Regions from separate parts of the Homo sapiens genome. Here regions 1 and 2 are each linked to region 3. The links are contacts of gene promoters, found by promoter capture Hi-C in human tissues and cell types (Jung and others, 2019). All regions are on one chromosome and are shown on one strand. The core of a region is centred on a gene start or on the middle of the fragment in contact, and the rest is flanking DNA. Distances in the headings are between cores, read along the strand shown.

What was found. The method cuts DNA at HindIII sites, captures the fragments that hold promoters and counts their contacts. A contact is called where the count stands out against the background at its distance.
Region 1: a fragment that was not itself captured here is called in contact with the fragment with the promoter of B3GNT4 in region 3 in 1 of the 25 tissues and cell types used here (bladder).
Region 2: a fragment that was not itself captured here is called in contact with the fragment with the promoter of B3GNT4 in region 3 in 1 of the 25 tissues and cell types used here (mesenchymal stem cells).

The regions. Positions count from the first base shown.
Region 1 is chr12:122,236,607-122,239,942 of GRCh38, forward strand. VPS33A (VPS33A core subunit of CORVET and HOPS complexes) reads right to left here. Exons shown (of 13, transcript NM_022916.6): 9 at 3,272-3,336; 10 at 1,981-2,118. Among named protein-coding and RNA genes, the nearest start is that of DIABLO, 12 kb to the left of the region's middle. The HindIII fragment of the contact is 8,655 bases long and covers 1-3,336 here.
Region 2 is chr12:122,144,696-122,147,991 of GRCh38, forward strand. It overlaps MLXIP (MLX interacting protein), which reads left to right. Exons shown (of 17, transcript NM_014938.6): 17 at 1-2,649. Among named protein-coding and RNA genes, the nearest start is that of IL31, 28 kb to the right of the region's middle. The HindIII fragment of the contact is 4,489 bases long and covers 1-3,296 here.
Region 3 is chr12:122,201,789-122,205,422 of GRCh38, forward strand. It overlaps B3GNT4 (UDP-GlcNAc:betaGal beta-1,3-N-acetylglucosaminyltransferase 4), which reads left to right and starts at 1,921. Exons shown (of 3, transcript NM_030765.4): 1 at 1,921-2,013; 2 at 2,734-2,896. The coding sequence starts at 2,831. It overlaps LRRC43 (leucine rich repeat containing 43), which reads left to right. Exons shown (of 12, transcript NM_001098519.2): 12 at 1,527-1,683. The coding sequence ends at 1,654. RefSeq lists a silencer at 1,606-2,235. The HindIII fragment of the contact is 16,495 bases long and covers 1-3,634 here.

The sequences.
Region 1 (3,336 bases), core at 344-2,843, 34 kb after region 3:
CTGGGCAACAGGGTGAGATACTGTCTCAAAAAATAAATAAATTTTAAAAAGTAGCCAACACTTATAAAATACTTTCTATGAGCTGGGCACTGTTCTGGTCTAAGCACTTACATACATTAACTCAGTCATCCCGGCTCTAACCCCATGACGTAGGTATCATTACCTTCATTTTACAGAGATGTTTAAATAACCTGCCTAAAGTCACACAGCTAGTGAAGAGCAGAGCTGAAACCTGGATCCAGCCAGTCTTGCTCTGAAGTCTGTGTATGGAAACATTCTGTCTAAATGCAAAGAATGGAGTTTGGAAGGAAGCAAATCAGACTGCTGACACTGGTCACATCTGGGGAGGGAAACTGGGGTATGAGCAAGGTACAGGGGACGTTCACATTTTGCTCTGTGTACTTCTGCATTATTTGACTCTTACACAAGGATACATAACTTAAAAAAAGACAAAAACAAAAAATTAATGAGCACTCAATTTTAATAAAAATGTACTTAACTGTCACTGGTAACAGCAAATAAATACTACCTGAGTCATTTTCAAACAAAGGGGAGACTTTTCAAAAACAAGAGTGGCCTTTTCCTTATTATAAGTAACACAGGCTTAATTTAAGTAAACCTGCTAAGCAACTGTCATCAGAAATTTGCAGAAAGTTCTTTTCCTCCGTGGTATAACTGCGGAGTTAAGAACATGGGCGCTACACTCAAATTGCCTGGTTTACCACTGGCTGTGCCACTTACCAGCCAGGTAACCTTGGGTGAGTTACCTAAACTAGTCTGTGCCTCAGTTTTTCATCCATAAAACTGGGACGATAGCAGTCTCTAACTCACAAGGCTGTTGTGAATATTTGTTGTTGTTGTTATGGTAACTACAGTTAACAAGGAAGTATTGTGAAGATGAAACAAATGAATGCACATAAAGTTTTTCTTTTTTTTTTTTTTTTTTTTGAGACGGAGTCTCGCTCTGTCGCCCAGGCCGGACTGCGGACTGCAGTGGCGCAATCTCGGCTCACTGCAAGCTCCGCCTCCCGGGTTCACGCCATTCTCCTGCCTCAGCCTCCCGAGTAGCTGGGACTACAGGCGCCCGCCACCGCGCCCGGCTAATTTTTTGTATTTTTAGTAGAGTCAGGGTACAGAGCCACCGCGCCCGGCCTATAAAGTTTTTCCAATAGATCCTAGCACATAGTAAATGCTCAAGAAATGTTACCTATTATTATTATTTTTTACTTTTTGTAAACAAGCTATGTTGCCTAGGCTGGTTTTGGACTCCTGGGCTCAAGCAATCCTCCTAACTCAGCCTCCTGGGTAGCTGGGACTGCAGACACAGCCACCATGCCTGGTAAATTTTTGTATTTTTTTTGTAGAGACAGGGTCTTGCTATGTTGCCAGGCTGGTCTTGGCCTCCAGCGATCCTCCTGCCTCAGCCCCACAAAATATTGAGATAACAGAGGTGAGCCACTGTGCCCAGCCTGTTAGCTATTATTATCACACAAATACAATAAACAGTGATGGCTACCAAGACCAATTCCTCTAGGTGTTAAAAAATTTATACAACAGTCGTTACAAGATACCAAAATGGCAGCTTTGTAATTTTTATTTTTTTTAATTTTAAATTTTTTATTATTATTTTTTGAGACAGAGTCTCACTCTGTTGCCCAGGCTGGAGTGCAGGGGCATGATCTTGACACACTGTAACCTCCGCCTCCTGCGTTCAAGCGATTCTCCTGCCTGATCCTCTCAAATAGCTGGGACTACAGGTGCATGCTACCATGCCTGGCTAATTTTTGTATTTTTAATAGAGATGGGGGTTTCACCATGTTGGCCAGGCTGGTCTCAAACTCCTAACCTCAAGTGATCCACCTGCTTTGGCCTCCCAAAGTGCTGGGATTACAGGCGTAAGCCACTGTGCCCGGCCCATGAAGTATTTTTTAAAAAGATGCTGTCCCCCTTGGCAAATTAATAATTTAAAAATATACTCACCTGGAGAATCTCTCTTTTGTAATAATCCAAAACTTTTTGTTTGAGCCCACTATTACACACGGATTGGAGGCAAACTAGTCTTAACACCTTGATCAACGAGTGCTTTTGGGCGATACAATCCTCAATGTAATTGTTGACCTGGAAATAAAGTAGCATACATATACATATACATTTACATATACATACACACACACACACACACACACACACACACACACACAATACATGGTTTAGGAACTTAACTTGATGTTTATTATTATTTTTCAAAGTCCAATAAAGGAGATACGTGGGAAAATGAGTTATTTTTCCACAGTCCCTAACCCTTCCCCGAAATAGCTCTGCTAGCCCCAGCCACACACACACCCTGGCCACCACACACACACACACACCCCACACACACATACATACATACACACACACACACACACACACACACCCCCCAGTGATCAGGCCAAGTCACTGGAGCCCAAGGCCGCTGAGAATACAATTGGTCACTCCATATGCCTGTCTGGACACGTCTGTCTCTAAGGACACGCTTCTGAGAGGCTACCAGATGTCTACTCCATTTCAATAGTATCAACAACTAATCTAGCAAAAAGTATCAGTAATTGTTTTATGTTAGGAATTTTCATAAAGTGAATAATTTAAAATTTGTTAATAGAGCTATTTAAAGGAGTTATATAAGAAACTCTTTCAAAAGAGCAAATACCTTATCTAATACAGTCTTAAAAAGATTTGATTTTAGGGGCCAGGTCTCATGTTGCCATGTATGGCAGAAAGTGTCTTGCACAGAATAATGTTAAATATCTGTTACTTGATAAAATCTACACTTGCACATTTTGCATTTGCTCTTAAAAATATTTAAGTGGCCGGGCGCAGTGACTCACGCCTGTAATCCCAACAGTTTGGGAGGCCAAGGTGGGCGGATCACAAGGTCGGAGATCGAGACCATCCTGGCTAACATGGTGAAACCCCGTCTCTATTAAAAATACAAAAAATTAGCCAGGTGTGGTGGTGAGCGCCTGTAGTCCCAGCTACTCGGGAGGCTGAGGCAGAATGGCGTCAACCCGGGAGGCGGAGCTTGCAGTGAGCAGAGATGGCGCCACTGCACTCCAGCCTGGGCAACAGAGCAAGCTGGGTGACACACAGTGAGACTCCGTCTCAAAAAAAAAAAAAAAAAAAAAAAAAAAAAAGGCAAGGCATGGGAATCAAAGCAATTGGTTTTCTGGCTATAATCTGAGGTTTAATAAGCTTTCAATTACTTGTTAAAGAGGTTTTTTTGTCCACATACCTTATCAGTGTCTATTCCAGACATAAACTCCTGTTCCACGGTTAATTTATCAAAAAAGTCTTCAG
Region 2 (3,296 bases), core at 202-2,701, 58 kb before region 3:
ACCAACATGGTGAAACCCTGTCTATACTAAAAATACAAAACATTAGCCACGTGTGGTGGTACACGCCTGTAATCCCAGCTACTCGGGAGGCTGAGTCAGGAGAATCACTTGAACCTGGGAGGCGGAGGTTGCAGTGAGCTGAGATTGTACCACTGCACTCCAGCCTGGGTGACAGAGCAAAACCCTATCTCAAAAAAAAAAAGAAGAAAAAAATAGAAAATCCAAAAAGAAAAACCAGAAGGCCTGCTGGCGTATAAATCCCTGGGCGGGTTTCTGATAAATTGCCCTGTGCTGTCAGCCCCTGCACTGCACTGCTGCCTTCCATGGTGGGTGGGAGACCCCAGAGCGGGGCAGGCGCCACTGAGGGCTTTTCTTGGAGTCGGCCAGCAGGCCACGCAGCATCCGGCACCCTGGGCGGGCTGGCTAGCTGCCTTCTTAGGACATCTCTACTTTGAAGGATTTTACCGCAGGAAGCAATAGCAGCGCTGGCCATTGGTGCTGATGACAGCATTGGGTCTGGTTGAGGGGAAGGGGCTGGAAAGCAGCAGACCCCCCCAGTGCTGCGCATGGTCCCGGAGCTGTCAGCCAGGGGAGTGGGGTCAGCCGTCAGCCAGCCCTCCCATTTCCCGCCCATGGGCCCTGACCACACTCCCTTTTCTAGAAGTCAATCCTAAGGTTTCTCTGCTCTGGCTAAGAGGATGTAAATTTGGATTCTTAGAGGGCATGGCACCCCCAGTCCCTGCCCAGATAAAGTAGCACAGTGGCAGGCAGCACCTCTGTCTGTTGCTGACGTTGGGGGGCTTACACACCCACCTCATCTCCGTGCACAGCCATGACTGGCCCTGCCGGCAGCTGGGGTGCAGGTAAGGGTCTCTCTCATAGAGGGGAGCTGCAGCTGAGAACTGGCGAGGCCCCTTCCTCCAAGGCCCTAGCTGGCCCCCGGGTGAACCTGAGGTGGCAGGTTCAGGTTTTCAAGATGGTGAGGTCTCGCTGTCTGCTGGACAGTACGTTAGGCTCTCAGAACTCATGGGTGTGGAGCTGGGCCTGTCCCGGGCCAGTGGACCCCTGTGTGTGGGGGATTTGGGGTGCTGTGGGCCTGGTTATGCACTGGCAGATGGACCTTGCTTTGGTCCAGCTCTTTTCCTTACCCTGGCTCTGACGTGGGAAGGCTTGGAGGGCCCGTCTCATCACCCCCGTTCGCCCTCAGCTGTCCCTTTCCCTTGTCGCCTGGCCGCTGCCTCGCCCGCCTGAGGCCTCCTAGCAGGCAGCCTGGGTGTGAGTTGAGCCTCTCTCTTTTCCCTCTGGTGGGAAAGTGGCCTTTCCCTCAACACCTGCTCCCCGGCCCCAGAGGAACCCACCTGTTTTGGAGCTCAGCTTGGCCCAGCGTTTCCTTGGGGAAGGGAAAGGAGGGCTGGACAGCACTGATCCGGGCAGGCAGCGTGTGCAGCAGTGGCCAGCCAGAGTGCCAAAGATGCACGGGGATGTGGTGTGTGGCTCCGGGCCCTCGACATCTCTGCTTTGGGGGATTTTTACCTTGTCTGCACACTTGTCAGGGGAGAGGGGACAGCAAGGTGGGAGGTTGAAGAGCTTTGAGGCTCAGCAGCATGTTTGTGGCATTCGGTGGACACCATGGCCTTGGGCGGCTGGACAGGTTTTTGTGATGTGAGGGACACGCATGGGGCACATGGTAAGCTTGGCAAGGGCTCCAGGAACGCTGACGAAGGGTTTTAGGACCCCCACCCCCATGCCTGTACCAGGGCTGGCCTCCAGAGCGGGTGAGGACAGAGCAGCTGTGGGCTTTTCATTCTGAGGTCTTGGCCCCCCTGGCCACCGCAAGGGACTCTTTGCTTGTCAGGGCTTGCAAAAACCAACCTTCGAGAAAGAAAAGGGAACTCTTCACGTTGAATGTTGACTTTGTGTGTATGCGTGTGTGTGTGTGTGTGTGCACGCGCGCGTGTGCGTGTTGACTTCATGGAATTTTGTTTTGTGAAATTCCCCTCCAATCGTGTCAGAATTTACCTCCATGCCCCAGTCACACTGTTGGTTCTGCGCTCTGAACCTGGGTGTAGCTCATTTGAAGGACTCTCTTCTGCGTTTCCTAACAGTTATTTGGTGGTCTCAAGAGTTGAGGTTGTGGAGGGTTGGGAGAAACTGAAGTTCTATACATTTCCATAGAGTTTACATCCTGCAGTTAAAAGGCAGGGAGGGCTCAGCCCGGGCCCCACAGCTCCAGGCCATCCCCTACGGGCTGCCCACAGTGCCCCCTTTTCTCTAGCCGAATCTTTTTCGAACAGCCCGGGAAAGGAAAACGGATTCACTTGCTGATTTTGTTCACGGCGGAAGCACCATGTTCCGTTCCTTTTTCAGGTTCAGTTTGTTGTGTAAATGGCGGTTTTTTCTGGTGTGAGCTTTGGTGATGGTGGCAGGGCTCCTTTGAAGAGATGGTTCCACCTCGTGGTCTGAAGAACAAACCAGAGAAGAGTCTGGTTTGGCCAGAGGCCCCCTCCGGTCCACGTCACCCTGAGTACACCCCTCTGATTGCTCTGCTGTCAAGAAGCACGTTTCCACCAGCTGTATTCAACACTACAATGCATTTTTTAAACTATATTTGCATCCAAGACAATAAAGACACCTTATTTTTTTTGAAAAGCCTGTGATGTGTGGCCTTAAATACTATCCTGTTGCAGCAGTGGAAGAGATGGGAAAATGAAGAGATCTGAGCATAGCGATGCCCTTGGCCAGCTCACTCCTTCTAACCTCGGGAGGTGTGATAAGCCTGGGATGGAGGCATTGGGTGGGGAAGAGGCCCAGGGTGGGAGGGCGATTCTAGAGGTGTGTCCAGAAAGTCGGTGCTCCTCTTCTAAAGACAGGCCTCCCCACAAAGGCTGATGAGAAAGGCCCAGTGTGGCGGGTTCTGCCTGTGGCCTCAGCAGGGGCTAGTGAGGCAGGCCACTGCTCCAGGCCGCACCCAGATGGACAGAACTCACTGGTGCCCCTATAAACCTCCCGTTTCCTCATCCGGGACTTGGGCAAAGAGCACCAGGCCTGCACGCTTGACAGTTTCACGTGAAATCACATGTGTCCAAGTGTTCAGTAGCCCGTGGAGCTCTGTGCTTAGAGAGTGCAGTCATCAGCACAGCCAGCACTGGCCCAGCTCTGCAAGATCCTCAGTCACAGTGGGAGCCTCCAGGCACTGTGGTTCCCCTCCTCGTTATTGACCCAATACCAGAGATGGGAAAGACTAGAAAGCTGGCCAGTAGAACTGTTCCTTTGTTCAGGTGCTGAGAAGGTTTGGC
Region 3 (3,634 bases), core at 671-3,170:
AAAAAGCATGAGGCCCGATCATAGCAGAGCAACCCATCATACTGAAGCCGAAAAGTGGAAACAGGCCCAACATGGTGGCTCACGCCTGTAATCCCAGCACTTTGGCGTGCGGATCACCTGAGGTGAGGAGTTCGAGACCAGCCTAGCCAACATGGTGAAACCCCGTCTCTACTGAAAACACAAAAATTAGCCAGGTGCGGTGGTGGGTGCCTGTAATCCCAGCTACTCAGGAGACTGAGGCAGGAGAGTCGCTTGAACCTGGAAGGCAGAGGTGGCAGTGAGCTGAGATCGCGCCATTTCACGCCAGCCTGAAGAAGTAAACGTTGGAGGGCATATGCTGCTGGACTTCAAAACCCATGCCTATATGAACATGTGATTTGTGATACTTATCTGTGGGTTAAGATGGCCTTAAAAAGGTTTTTTTTTTTTTAATCTCTTTAATGTTTGGCTTAATTGAAGACAGCTGGATTCTTACAGCTACTTCTGCAGTCAACTGCTTGCAATATGTTGCTGTAATTGACGTGCACAAAGAAAATCCAACCTCAGGCCCATAATTGGAAAAGAGGGAGTATTTTAATAGACCTTAAAATAATATAATTTCTTTAATATTACACCAAATTTGACAAGTGGTAATTTCTTAAAGGTTGTTACAATGTGAAAACAATCTATATTGAATTTTTCATAATCAGATTAAAATTCATTAATCTAGTTTGCATTTTGAACGGATATTTTACCATGCAGTTTGTAACATGCATGAGTTACTTGTAAACTACAGGTTAACAGACTTATGCAGATATTCCAACAGTTGACACCTGTCACTATACATTTTCCAAAGATCACGTTCTTTACTATCACCACCCACATCATTAGAAAGGTCTTTGCGTATTGGAAAATTGGTAAATTCATGGTGGCAGATACAATGTTGTCTCATTTTTAGGGCAAATGTTATACATTTATTGAAATGCTTTCAGTTGTTTCCCCTGAAGTGCTATAATTACTTCATTTTTAAGAAAATATCTGCAGCTGGGCTCGGTAGTGTACGCCTGTGATCCTAGCACGTTGGGAGGCCTAGGCAGGCGGATCACTTGAGGTCAGGAGTTCGAGACCAGGCTGGCCAACATGGTGAAACCCCGTCTCTACTAAAACTACAAAAAATAGCCGGTCGTGGTGACAGGCGCCTGTAATCCCAGCTACTTGGAGGCTGACGCAGGAGAATCGCTTGAACCTGGGAGGCGGAGGTTGCAGTGAGCCGGGATCATGCCACCGCACTCCAGCCTGGGCGACGGAGCACGACACTGTCTCAAAGCAAAAAGCAGCCAGTCTTGCAACTCAAACAGCTGCGATTTATTAAATGATCTAATTAAATACAATTTAATTTTATTTCTTATTACTGTTAACACCCGAGGACCAAAACTGTGCTCCCGCTGGGACAGGGTCCAGGGCTTGCATATGGGATGGGTCAGGGCGGCCGAGAACGCCAGCCCATCCGTCTCCCGGGGCTCATGCTCGCACTTAAATTTTCTCAGAAAAGCCGAAAGCCGTGATTCCGATCTACGAAGGCGATTACCACCCTGAGCCCCTGACCGTAGAGGTGCAGATCCAGCTGAACCAGTGCCGCTCGGCGGAGGAGGCTCTGCGCATGTTCGCCGTGTAGGGCGTGGGCAGTAAAGGCTGTTCCCAGCACTCCCGCCTCCGCTTCTGTCCCGCCGCACGCGTCGGGGGGCGGGTGTGGCGCCGGCGTCCTGGGGAGGAGGAGCAGCCTCTGCCCGACCCGGCTCGTGCGGACCCCAGGACCGGGCGCGGGACGCGTGCGTCCAGCCTCCGGCGCTGCGGAGACCCGCGGCTGGGTCCGGGGAGGCCCCAAACCCGCCCCCGCCAGAACCCCGCCCCAAATTCCCACCTCCTCCAGAAGCCCCGCCCACTCCCGAGCCCCGAGAGCTCCGCGCACCTGGGCGCCATCCGCCCTGGCTCCGCTGCACGAGCTCCACGCCCGTACCCCGGCGTCACGCTCAGGTAGGTTGGGGGCCGGGACGCCGCTGCTGTGAGGGAGGCTGGGTCACCGTGCAGGGAGGGGCGTCGCCAGGGCGGCCGTGCCTTTGCACCCCGCGGCCCGCTCCCCGGTCCCCCAGGGTCCCCGCGAGGACGCCGGCCCCGCCCGGGTGCGGCGCGAGTCTGGCCTCGGCGGGCACGGCTCGGGGCCCACGGGCCGCTCGGCTTCGGTTCTCCAGGCTGGGGACAGAGGCTGGAGCCGGGCGCGGTAGACCCCGCCAGCCTGGGCCGCCCGCGCCCGACGCGCAGCGCTGCTGCCAACCCCGGCCCGGGGGTCCCCGCAGAGTGGGTCTCTGCTGCCGTCAGCCCTTCGGAGACTGTCGCGTTGAAAGAATGAACCAGAGTTCGCCCCCTGCCCGCGCCAGGGCGTTTTGGGTCACCGAGTCCTGTGGGGATCCGAGGCGGCTGCCGCCCAAGGCCGAGCGCAGCCTCAGGACCCGCGCCCCACCAGACGGGGTCGTGCGCTCCGCGGCGGGTGGAGAGCCGGGCTCTGGGGTCTCCGCGGCTCGGAGGGCGGCGGGGCGAGGCCGTGCGGCCAGCGCCTGGGGACGCCCGCGGCGGGACAGGGGCCACCCGGGCCGCGGCGCAGCCTGGGCTGAAACCTCCTGGGACGGAACCAAGCCACCTGCTGTGCGCCCTTCTCGGTGAATGGCACCGCCGCCCGCCCGGGCCTCTCGTCCACAGCCCGCGGTGCTCGCACACCTGAGACTCATCTCGCTTCGACCCCGCCGCCGCCGCCGCCCGGCATCCTGAGCACGGAGACAGTCTCCAGCTGCCGTTCATGCTTCCTCCCCAGCCTTCCGCAGCCCACCAGGGAAGGGGCGGTAGGAGTGGCCTTTTACCAAAGGTCAGATTCTTTCACCGCCTCTGCCAGACCCCCTTGTCCCCCACCCCCGCATAGATCTCCAGGGGGCTCAGAAAACTCTGGCCGGTGGCTCACGCCTGTAGTCCCAACGCTTTGGGAGGCCAAGGCGGGAGGATCGCTTGAGGCCAGGAGTTCCAGACCAGCCCAGGCAACAAAAGATACCACATCTCTACAAAAAATAAATTAGCCGGGCCCTGCACGCCTGTAGTCCCAGCTACTGGGGAGGCCGAGGCCGGAGGATCGCTTGAACCCAGGAGTTCCAGGCTGCAGTGAGCTATAATTGTGCCACTGCACTAGAGTCTGGGTGACAGAGACACTGTCTCAAAAAAAACCAACAAAACCCTTAGCTCTTTCACTAGCCGGGCTGGCCTCTTCCTACTGTAAACCTGCTGGGCCCCCGTCTCCCTTCTTTCTCCCCTCTCTCCTGCCCTGGAGCTGCCTGACTCTGCCCACGGCCTGCAGAGACCCCAGGTCTTCACGCAAGGTGCCATTCCTCACTCAGTTCTTGCTCAAACGTCCCTCCATCAAGGAGGGCTTTTTAGCTACCCTTGGCTATGGGATCCGTCCTCCGCGTCAGCCAATTCTCTGCATTAGACTGTAACTTCTCAACATACCTGGTTCCTATGCGTTTTGTGCTCCCCTCTGAGAGGGCAGCGACCCTGTCTTGCTTGCCACTGCATCCCTAGCACCTAGCAGTTGCTTTTCTGGTGACGGCGGCTG